Regions from separate parts of the Homo sapiens genome. Here region 1 is linked to region 2. Evidence: promoter capture Hi-C in human tissues and cell types (Jung and others, 2019). All regions are on one chromosome and are shown on one strand. Each heading gives the region's core, a stretch centred on a gene start or on the middle of the fragment in contact. The rest is flanking DNA. Distances are from core to core; before and after follow the strand shown. Region 1 overlaps FGF14 (fibroblast growth factor 14). Region 2 holds the start of NALCN (sodium leak channel, non-selective).

Region 1 (5,863 bases), core at 66-2,565, 350 kb before region 2:
TGATGGAACTATGCAATTCATTTTTTAAAATATTGGCATTTCATACTCACATCAAATATCTTGCACCTGAATGATATCATTCCAGCTAGTACAGTTTCTGGTTATAAAATTGTAGATGAGGATTAATGATTATTAAGCCCGGTTTTCCAAATTATTGAGGCTCACAATTTTGAGAAGTGTGATTTCCATAGATTTGTTTAAGAAGTAAAAGGCTGGCCAGGCACAGTGGCTCATGCCTGTAATCCCAGCACTTTGGGAGGCCAAGGTGGGCAGATCACCTGAGGTCAGGAGTTTGAGACCAGCCTGGCCAACATGGCAAAACCCCGTCTCTACTAAAAGTACAAAAATTAGCTGGGTATGGTGGCAGGTGCCTGTAATCCCAGCTACTCAGGAGGCTGAGGGCAGGAGAAGCTTGAACCCAGGTAGCAGAGGTTGCAGTGAGCCGAGATCGCACCACTGTACTCCAGCCTGGGCGACAAAAGCGAGACTCCGTCTCAAAATAAATAAATAAATAAATAAATAAAATAATAATAATAATAATAAATAAAAGGCTTCTATATGCACAGAGGATTTGTTTCACATATTGATTCTCTTATGTGGTCTTCATTTCACAACTGTATGAATCTGTAGCATGAAATACATATTTGGCAAGTAAAGATTCTATAAAGGAAAGAGTAGGAAGGTATAACGAACCAATTCTGAGATTTCCCTAAGCAATCAGTTCACCTGCTTGCCTCCATGGAGGCCATCATTGTCTTCTAGCACAATTTGTGAGAGACAGCAAGGCATCTTTTTACCACTATTAACCTAATCTATGGCAGTGTTCCCAGGGACCAATGTTGTCAGTTGTAGAGTAATGCCATTTAGAGGCTGGATGGGTTTACAGTTGCAGCCAAGCAAGGGTCTGCATTGAATTGACCCAAACAGGGAATTTTCAAGTAATTTCTCTATCTTTGTATGTGTGAGTTTTTTAGTAGTCAATTCAATTTTCATTAGCTTGTCAACTCTAATATCTGACAACTGAAATATAAAGTAGGGAGGAGAAAGAGCAGAATTAAGAGAAGGAATATATGTGCCAGAGGCAGAGTATTATCATTGTCCTGATGTAGTCATGATGACCTAAGTCATCCTTTGATATTGCTTTCATATAAAGGTTGTAGAATATATGAACCAAATCAAAATGGGACAAGGAGAGCTCCTTGCTCACAAAATGCCTCTGATCTATTGTGTGCATAAAGCATGACTTTATGACAAACACATAGAGACTCTAGATGGGGGAAGTTACAGTCCTTGAGTGATTTTCGTATTCAACCCAGTGGGATCACTATCATTTAGTGGTATATTAAAATGCTAATTCTCATCCAAGGTCAAATTCAACTCCATACAAGCTGTTTTAAAATTCAGAATTGGTTGCTTTATGAAAAGTACATTTGAGACTATTTGGAAATAAAGACTATTTGAAAATTTTCCGGCTTCCTTAACTTCAGTACCTCTTGCCATTGTGTCACAGCTTGGGTGTGGTGGGGGAGGTGCAATCTTCTGGGTAGAGACCAGGAATCCCACTAAGCCTACATCGTATGGGATAGCCCTATGACAAAGAATGACATGGCCCAAAAGGCCAATCATGCCAAGCTTGAGAAACTGCTCAGAATAAGCAGGGAGAGTGAAGAAACAAGCTGATGCTCAAACTAGTGAATCTCATTTTGTTGTTAATCGCCCCTTTTCTGCAACACTTGTGGGTTAGGGAAAATAATTCTAAAGCAAGAGCAAAGACAGAGTTGGGAGATCACCAGTGAGGTTCAATTTTCCATCACATTCACTCTGCTCCACACCTCAGATAATCATGTGCTTAACTGCGCAACTTGCTTGACAATTACAGAACACTTTCTCACCCATTACTACCTTGATCCTCACAATTCTGTGGGGTAGTAGGAGCAGATGCTGAAATTGCCATACGCAAATCAGTGAACTGAAGCTTAGAGACCTCCAGCAGGGGCAGAGGGTCAGCGGAAACTATCCCAGGGTTCAGCCAACAAGAAAGTATATTGGAATCAGAGTATTAAAATAAGAATAATAAAACCAACTAAAATTTACCGTGCTTTTTATTTCCACTCAGTGCCAACAATTCTTAACAGTGTCAGTGATGGATCCCTGTGCCCCAGGGGACAGACTTCTTACTAGCTTCTGCCACTTTGGTCAGCTGCTGTTCTGGGGAGGTTAACTTTCTTACTTCAAATTCACACTAGAGAGGAAAAGGAAATGCATACATATAGGACCAAATTTCACTCCTGATGTCTCCACACACAAAGCTCCTTCACCATGCCAGTCTCAATCTGCTGCTCTGGGGAGGTTAAGTTTTGTTTGTTTGTTTGTTTGTTTTTTGAGACAGAGTTTCATTCTTGTTGCCCAGGCTGGAGTGCAGTGGTGCAATCTCGGCTCACTGCAACCTCCGCCTCCCAGGTTCAAGCCATTCTCCTGCTTCAGCCTCCCAAGTAGCTGGGATTACGGGTGTGCATCACCACACCTGGCTAGTTTTTGTATTTTCACTAGAGATGGGGTTTCACCATGTTGGTCAGGCTGGTCTCAAACTCCTTACTCTCAGGTGATCCACCTGCCTTGGCCTCCCAAAGTGCTGGGATTACAGGCATGAGTCACCATGCCCAGCCAGGAAGTTAAGTTTCTTACCTCAAATTAACGCTAGAGAGGAAAAGGAAATGCATAAATACAGGACCAAATTTCACTCCTGATGTCTCCACACACAAAGTTCCTTCACTATGCCTGTCTCAATCTTGTCATTAAAGTGGTATTTCCTTATTAGGAAAAAAAGAACTAGGTCCTTAAAATACTGTTCATTCCATCCCATGGGTTGAGTACATTACATATTGACAGTGGTACATTCCAGCCACCTGAGACAACCAATCTTATGCCAATCAGTGCTACAGAGAGCACCCCTTGCCTTACAGCTGGCCTAACCACAGCTGGGGATGACTGACTGGAGAATGTTGTGATCTTTGACTTTGTCACAGGTAAAATGGTGTTTCTAACTGTAATCACAGGTCTCTGTGCTGTGCCTTTCACTTCATCACACTCTATTCTCTCTAATTCCAACCCTGCCAAACTCATTAGGCCAAATTTGCTTACTTCTGTGCATTCTACACACTTCCAACAAACCCTATGTTTGCCTTTCCTTGTGATGATAAAGAGAAATGGCAGTTAGTGGTCTGAAAGATGGCGTCTGACCTTTTTATGATGGGGCTGAAGGCTGGATGCTGGAGGCAGGGTGTGTGTTTGGTGCAGCACTGATATTCCCTATGGCAGTGTCAGAGCCTGCCTAAATACAACCTACTGACTAGCATGAAAATATTCCTCTGGGCAAGAGGGAAAAATGTGACACCATGGGAGGTAGGATTTGACATGATACGGATTTGGAAAAATGAAATGTGACAATTGCTAATTCCATACAGTTCAAGGAAAACTGGCCTATTTCAGGTTCCCAGCAGGTATTTAATACTGAAGTGTAAAGAAAGATGGCAAACTTACAATTATTTTGATTGAACTATGGTTATCTCCATTCAACTAAGGGAGCATTTGCAGCAATGCCGATGGGCCAGCTATTTTGGTTTTGCCATATTGTTTCATTTCTTGACCCACGTTACATAATCACTCAGACCAACAACAACTGACTGAATTGTTATTATATTTATATGTATTACCTAAGTATATATTTCCTGTTAGTCTTTCAATGGATAGCTCAAAGCAGATAGAGTGAGAAGGACAATTATGCCTTTGCTTGATTTACTTGAATATAATGCCCCTGACAAAGGTATTTTTGATATAATAAATGTGTGAGTTTCTTGTTTAGAATCTTAAACTCGGTCCGAAGGTTGGGATTTTGCACAATGGGGTTAGAAGAATTCACTGAAACACTTATCCAGCTGAAGGCATATATTGCCAATTTCATATTTGTGTCTTGCTATTTCAAAATATTGCATTGCCAGGCAAGATTTACTGCAGCATTCTGTAGCTTAACCCTCTTTCACATAGGCACACATCCCTCCAAGCTTTTCCAAAGCATGTTTAACAGTGCTACTAGAAATCAGACAAAATGCTCCTACCATTTGGATTTTGGCTTTACCAAGTTTATTAAGTCTCTATCAATGGAGCAGGCTACTCACAGCACAGCACAGTACCTCACATGGTTGCTACACAGATCATCAACCTATACTGCTTAGTATTCAGATATCAAAATCAGCAGAATCAAAAAGGGCTGGAATTAGCTGGTTCCTGTCCAATTCTAACTCCCTGGCGGCCTCTCTCTTAGGGACTCTTGTGTTGGTTTGTGTTCCCAGAGATGGGAGCCTTTAATTGTGATTTTAAGCCATTAGATTATGAACTGAATAATGGCAGAGAAATGCCTACCCAACTGCCATTAGTGAGGACAAGCGTTGTTTTCTTGATAAATTGTAATGTTTAATTTTTTAATTGACAAATCATAATTGTATATATTCATGGAGTACATAGTGATGTTTTTATATATAGTGTACAGTGATCAGATCAAGGTAATTAGCCTAGCCATCATCTCTAACATTTATTATTTCTTCGTGTAGGGAACATTCAAATCCTCCTTGGTGCTCTTTGAAACTATATATTATTGTTAACTATAGTCATTGCTGCTAACTTGACCAAGAAACCTAAATAAGCATTTGTCTATAGTCGACCTTTCTGCATGCCTCAGAACAGTAGAAGGGGACTTGCTGACAGAGACCCACAGTCACGTGGGGTCCAAGTTTTGAACTTTCCCCTGACTGGCCAAGTGACAGGCAGCAGTCACTGTGGTCTTTAAAATACCCCAAAATACAACATAGATTGTGGTATAACTTTCTCATCTGAGTTTTCCAACTAGCAAGAAAATCTCTATCTATGTGTGTCATTATGTCTCATTTTTCCTCATTTTTAGGCAGTATATAAGTTAAAGAATCTGGTTTGTGTTTTCTCCTGCATATTCTGTGATTTATTTGAAGGTTCGCAAATTATATAAAGCTAAAAGTTATTTTTACATGTAAACTACATAGAATCACATAGCATTATTTTGTTGTTTTACTATGACAAATGTCTCTAATTTAAGGCATTGGGCCTTATAACCTTTGTTAGTAAATGGAATTGGAGAAGAAGTGTGCCTAATTAATATTTTGGTTTGAAAAGTAAGATTACTGTATTAGAATTTTATCCAAGGATTAAATTTTTAATAGGGTATTTAGGTGAAGTAATACTTTTTTTTTCATCCTTCAAGAGAGTAATTAATTCTACAAAATATTAAGCCTGCTGACTTTGAATATTTTTAAATGCTTTAGATTTATTAGACAAATGCTCATTGTCTACCTGTTGTAGGCTACTCTAGGACTTACATTCCAGTGGAAGAAGACAGATCATAAACAAATAAGTTTCAAAAATCAGTGGGTATTGGGAAGAGAAAAATAAAGTAATGGAAGCAAGACGGGGAATACCAGGGAGGCTGGAAGGAATTAAAGAAAATACTATATCAGGTGATCAGCATGCAATAGATGCTCAGTAAGCACTTGTTACCATTTGAATGAGTACATGGATGGATGAGGTGGTTGGTTAAGGCAATTTCAGAGTATCACATGCCAAAAGCAGTTTAAGGGATGGGGAGCCACTGACGGCTTTTGATCAAGGGAACAGCATGAACAGTTCTTTGAGCACGTGAAACACTGGAAAGCCATTTTCAAAGTGCACTTTATGCTTACTTTTCATCGATTTTGTTGCCACTTTAACTCTCCCTGCGACAGTCTTTGTGACTCTGAAAATTATCATGTGAATAGGCATCATTTAACAATAGGTATTG
Region 2 (6,269 bases), core at 2,826-5,325:
AATAAAGTATTTTTAAGTTAAGATATATATATATTTTAGTATACAGTACAGTGTATACATAACTTATATATGCATTGGAATATAAAAAAAAATTGTGTGACTTGCCTCATTGTGATATGTACTTTATTGCATTGGTCTGAAACCAAATTGCACTGTCTTCCAGGAACGCCTGTACATGTAAATCCATGTTAGTGAGGCAACAAGCAGGAGATGCCTATTAGTTAGCCTGTTTACATTTTTAGGTGTGTATTCTAAACCTTAATTTTCCCTGCCCAAAGAGCATCTAAAAGTTCATCATAGCAATATTTGGTGACATGTGGGTCTTGAAATCACAGAACATAAACAAGTGTATACGGATTAAAACTAATCTTAGGCCGGGCGCGGTGGCTCACGCTTGTAATCCCAGCACTTTGGGAGGCCGAGGCGGGTGGATCATGAGGTCAGGAGATCGAGACCACGGTGAAACCCTGTCTCTACTAAAAATAAAAAAAAATTAGCCGGGCGTGGTGGCGGGCGCCTGTAGTCCCAGCTACTCGGAGAGGCTGAGGCAGGAGAATGGCGTGAACCCGGGAGGCAGAGCTTGCAGTGAGCCGAGACTGCGCCACTGCACTCCAGCCTGGGTGACAGAGCGAGACTCCATCTCAAAAAAAAAAAAACCTAATCTTAATGAGAGTCTCAAAAATATTACAGTCTTGTGTAGTTACTAAAGCATAATCTACTCATAAATCAAATGAAACATAATTATATTCGAGCAGAATTCTTCTCCAATTGATTCAGTGTCTATATTTCCATAGAGCACAGGACAGTCCCTCCATGGATTTTCAAATTTCTCTTTTAGCATGCCTATTGTTTTCCCAGTAACTCACCATGGTGTCCAGTGAAATACTAATTAAGGTGGAAATAAGCAGTAGGAACAAATGAGTTAGTGAAAAACAAATACCCTGTTTTCATCAAATTCTTGCTGTCTTGCATTTCATAGCTACTTCCTGTATTATTAGTCTGTTCTCATCCTGCTGATAAAGACATACTGGAGACTGGGTGATTTACAAAGAAAAAGAGATTTAACGGACTCACGGTTCCCCATGGCTGGGGAGGCCTCACAGTCATGGTGGAAGGCGAAAGGCACGTCTTACACGGCAGCAGACGAGAGAAAATGAAGACCAAGAGAAAGGGCCTTATAAAACCATCAGATCCCATGAGACTTATTCACTACCACAAGAACAGTATGGGGGAAACTGCCCCCATGATTCAATTATCTCCCACCAGGTCCCTCCTACAACACATGGGAATTGTGGGAGCTACAATTCAAGATGAGATTTGGATGGGGACACAGACAAATGATATCACATCCATTCCAAAGCACTTGCAGGACCATGAACACAATTTCATTTAAACCAAAGGCTACTACTATCTTGGTTGTGCATTGGCTTGGCTTCATCCTCTTTATTGTAAAACTTTCTGTATTGACTGCTTTCTCTGTGTTTGACATTATCCTTTCCCCAATCTCATACCGTCAAATACAGATTTAATTGTATAGGCTCCTACATGCAAACACCTTCCAGGGCCAGGAATTGAAGCAGGCTGGGGACATGGAGGCAAATGGGAAGTATATGCCCACCTATGGGAGGCACAGGATGCCCCTATTGGCCCCCTACCACTTGGGAATGCAGAACTGACCTGGCCAGATCTTCCTTCCTTTTTTTTTTTTCAAGACGGAGTCTCACTCTATCACCCAACCAAGCTGGAGTGCAGTGGCACAATCTCAGCTCACCACAACCTCTGCCTCCCCAGTTCAAGTGATTGTCATGCCTCAGACTCCTACAGGTATGGTGGCTTACGCCTGTAATCCCAGCACTTTGGGAGGCCAAGGTGGGTGGATCACCTGAGGTCAGGAGTTCGAGTCCAGCCTGGCCAACATGGCAAAACCCCGTCTCTACTAAAAATACAAAAATTAGCTGGGCATGGTGGAGGCTGCCTGTTATCCATATCTTCCTATTTTTCCTGATAAAATAAAATTCTTGTGGTTTTCAAATGTTGGTAATTGATCTTAATTTGTCAACAATATACATTGAGTCATACAAAACACACCTGAATTATATTCTCAGTTTATATTGAACCCACAGGCCAGCAATTGACTTTTACTGGATTCCAGCAATGAATGTAGTTACAGGGCCAATTCAACCTGGAAAAGATATTTGTTCATCCTTTCTACTTTTGCTTTGAGGATGCAGTGAGCTATAATCACATCAATGCACTCCAGGCTAGGCAACGGAGATAGGCCTTGTCTCTAAAAATAACAAAGAAAACAAAAGAAGAGAGATACTGAGCAGGTAGAAGGGGTACTATGATATTTTGGATGTACCTGTTTTTTAAAATGATTGTCTACTCCAATACACAGTGAATCCCTATGCATTATAGGATGAGTGTGCTGGATTCCATGACTTCCTTGAAGCCCATGAATTCTCTGAGACTGTCTCCATCATCATTGGGATTGTTTGGCTCATGAGCATGAATTATAGAGACTTAACAGAGGTAGTTCAACCAAGGACAGAGAAAGGTCTGAAATGCCTGTTGGGTGAGGAGTGGCACTGAGATTAGTAAAAAATCACTGCCTTGACCACTTCAAAACATTATAAATAAATGTTTAAATATTTCCTTAATATAATTTACTAACAGATAATTCGAACGAATGTCAAGGAATAACACACTATCATTCAGCTACCATATATATATAGCTATATATTTCAGTTTGTGAAATAAACTAGTATTTAGAACAAGCAATTGAAAGCCGCAAATAAAGATGATGAAACAAGTTGGTAAATACTTTTTCTAAGCAAACTGGTTGTAGATTTAGCATTGTTTAAATTACTGTCAATTTTTTCTTATGAGGAGTGATTTCATCATTTGTTTAAAACCTGGCTTTTGACACAGTTTTTCTGAAGTCTTTAGAAATTTGAAAAATTATCTCGCATGACTCTGTATTTCATGAAATACCAATATTTTAACATTTCCCTGTAAACAATAAAACGTACTAATATGGATTATGAATGTGAACAAATTGTGAATGGACTTTTTAAGAAAGTAGATTAATTAAATATCTGTAACCAGAAAATACATTTTTAAAATGTAGGTTTGTGTAGTTTTACTTCTATACCTTGCCACATAACATTTTGTGATAGACAAATGCTCTTTGTTTAGAATTTCTCTTGTAGAGAAAGCTTCATTCAGTTGTTTCTTTCCCTTTATTTATATGCCTGTGTGCATGATGTCTAAATCACTGGTCAGGAGTTCCCTGGGGATTTTCGTATCTGACTACATGGCAAGATTCCAGACCCAAAGTAAACCTTTCAGAGAGTGGGAATGAGTGGGAGGATGTCGCCCTGGGCATGGTGCTTAGGAGGCCAGATTTCCCTAAACCTGCTCTGCTGGGAGCCCTAGGAAGCCTCAGATGCAGTCTGCTGTCCAGGTATACTCACAGGGTATGGGGTGGGGGACTGTCAATTTCTGAATAGACTTTGTCTCATCCACACGACAACATATTTTAATTTTAAAGGCGAACGTCAACCTATTTAGAAAACTATAAGTGTGACTGATGCATTCATTATTTAATAACTCCGGGGTGAAACTTGAGGTGAACGGTTTCACCCTTTCATACTCAGGAATGGAACTAGTCCTCGGTACCGTGCACAGTCTGACCTCACGCTCGCACGCTGGGCTCCCGGCCTCCTGGCAGTGCACTTAAGTGTACCCCGCGTGTGCCCGGCGGACTCCCGTGCACACCGCCGCCGTGCTGTTGAGTACGAAAGACCCCCGAGAGGAGCTCGCAGATGAGAGCCTAGCTGTTGCTGTGAGACTGACTGCGGGTGGCAGCCGGCAAGAAGGAACTGCCAGTACCGACCCTGGCGCTCCCCACCAACTGCGGCGCAGCCTCCTCTGCGGTGCCCGCCCTTCGGCATCACTGCAGTCCCTGTAGCAAAGCTAACTTTAAAAATTTAAATAAAATAATAATTTTTTAAAGGCCCGAAAACTCCGGCTCCCACCCCTCCCCCAGCCTGCCCGGCGGCGGCGGCGCTCAGTGAGTGACACGGCGAGCGTGAGCCGCGGCCCCAGCCGGGCCGAGCGCGCTGCCTGAGCTGAGCCGCCGTAGGTGAGGGGCCCGCGTCCCCGCCCGCCCTGGGCGCCGCGCCTGGCACTGATCCTGCCGGTCGCCCACTGTCGCCGCCGCCGCCGCCCGCGGGCACCATGACAGCTCTGAGCGCTGGGGTTACAGGTTGGTCACCGCCGCCGGTGCCCGGGAGGCTGCGGCGCGGCCGGCTCCGTGCCCTGCGCCCGAGGCCCGCGATGCGCGCTCGTTAGTTCCTTGGCCGGTCCGGGCCAGGACGGCTCAGGGGCGCTGGGGCTGCGAGAGGGGCTGCTAGAGGGGCTGCGGGCGGGGGCCCCGCGCGGGGGAGGGGTGGGGAGGGGCGCCTCCACCCGAGAGCGGGGCGGTGGGGTCCTTGCCGGCCTGGCCGGGGCGCGGGAGCCGCGATGCGCCCTCCCTATTCCTGCGCGTGGGTGTCGGGGGCGCCTGCCGCGGGATGCCCCTGGGCTGGCTTGGGAAGCCCAGGGCCGGCGACACCTCGGGCCTGCCCCGCCTGGGCATCTAGCAGGTGTTGGGGGGCAGGTGGCTGAGGACGAGGCCACTGGGCATCACTACAGCGCTGCACCTGCCCCCTCGGCACCAGGGCCGCTGCCTGGGTAAACCTCTGGGCCAACGCGCGGGTGGGGAGGTGGGGGTGGGCAGCCTGGCTCCAGCAGGTCTCCGCGGGGGCTCCGCGGCCTTGCCCCACCCCCATGCTCCTGTGGATTGCTCCTTGCTAAATGTCCCTTATGATATTCATTGGCCTTGTTAAGCAGCCGTCATTAGGGTGGCTACACCGAACGCAAAACAGTGTCCTGCCAAGCAACACCATTTTGTCACTGAATCTTTAAGACACCAGCAAGGATGGCCTGGCTGGGATCCCTCTGGGGGCCCAGATCGCAGTCATTTTGCTGACTTAATGTTCCTCTTTCAGGATGGTGTGAGAATGCTGAACTCAGACCCTTAGTGCTTGAAATACCTTAGAATAAATCTTTCAGTTTCAGGTACAATTTTTCAGACACTGTATTATTAAGGATGTGTGAATACACGCTCACTTTCAGGCCTCAGAAGGTTTTACTCTTAATCTGGTGTTCGTGTGGTCATCAGCTAGGCCCGACTGCCCTGGTGGTGAAATGTGGGTTGAGGACCAGTGACCTTCGTGTTAGTAGTTGGTGGATAACACCTCTAATAGGGGATCAAAAATTAACAGGTGGCGATTTTGAAATATATATGTATGTATATATATATATATATGTGTGTGATTTGTATGTTCATAACTACAACTGTGATTTGATATGGCCTGGGAGAGGAGCGGTTTCACTATGGTAGTTACCCCTGAGGCAGATGCATCTCAGGACTGGCTTTTTAAATTCAAAGATAAGGTTTCCACAGTTCTAAATAAAAATCATGGCTTCCCAAACATCTGCAACGAGAAACATTTACTCCCTAACTGGTTGGCTGTCATTCTGCGTGCTTTTCTAGAGTCGATTTTTCGTTCTTCTGTAGTATACTTTGACCTAGCCACTGCTAAAACCAGACAGTGTGAAGACAAAATCCAGCTTTGGAGAAAAACTTAAAAAGTGAAAAGGTTCAGTTGGATCCTCTTCTGTGTTCATAGAAGACATAATCTGTTTGCAGAATAAATGTGCCGTCACTGATAAGGACTATGCTAAAATCTCTACAGAACTCTAGGAGAAAGCATGTCTTATAAAATAGTGGTTGTACACTTATAACTTTGGATAGGACTTGCAAGATATTCAAAGGAGAAATGTACTTAAAAAATGTACTTAAAAAAAGTCTACTCAAAATAGTGTCATTTAGTTGCAATTTAGTGAACTGAAGATTTGAGTAGCATTTTCTTCTTCTTGGGTATGGCATTTCTTTGAAATGGTTTCCAGGTGATTTTATCATTCCGGCATGCTTTGTGTGTGCATGTATGTGTATACACAAATGTACACATTTGTTTTATCATTTATCGATGATGTTCAGATAATTTCAGAATTTCCATAGCTGTATAAATTTATCCCAGGTCAGAGTCACATGTGGATTTCAAGTTTGTGAATGAAAATTCACATCTACACCTCTATATCCTAAGATAAGCTAAGCACTGGGCCAGAAGCTGGGTGGTGAGTGAGAAAAAGAGATAAAC

The links. The method cuts DNA at HindIII sites, captures the fragments that hold promoters and counts their contacts. A contact is called where the count stands out against the background at its distance.
Region 1: a contact is called between a fragment that was not itself captured here and the fragment with the promoter of NALCN in region 2, in 1 of the 25 tissues and cell types used here (aorta).

The regions. Positions count from the first base shown.
Region 1 is chr13:101,760,380-101,766,242 of GRCh38, reverse strand. All of the region lies in intron 3 of FGF14 (fibroblast growth factor 14), which reads left to right. Among named protein-coding and RNA genes, the nearest start is that of FGF14, 150 kb to the left of the region's middle. The HindIII fragment of the contact is 3,406 bases long and covers 1-3,018 here.
Region 2 is chr13:101,414,314-101,420,582 of GRCh38, reverse strand. It overlaps NALCN (sodium leak channel, non-selective), which reads left to right and starts at 4,075. Exons shown (of 44, transcript NM_052867.4): 1 at 4,075-4,270. RefSeq lists enhancers at 4,173-4,723, 4,724-5,274. The HindIII fragment of the contact is 15,657 bases long and covers 1-6,269 here.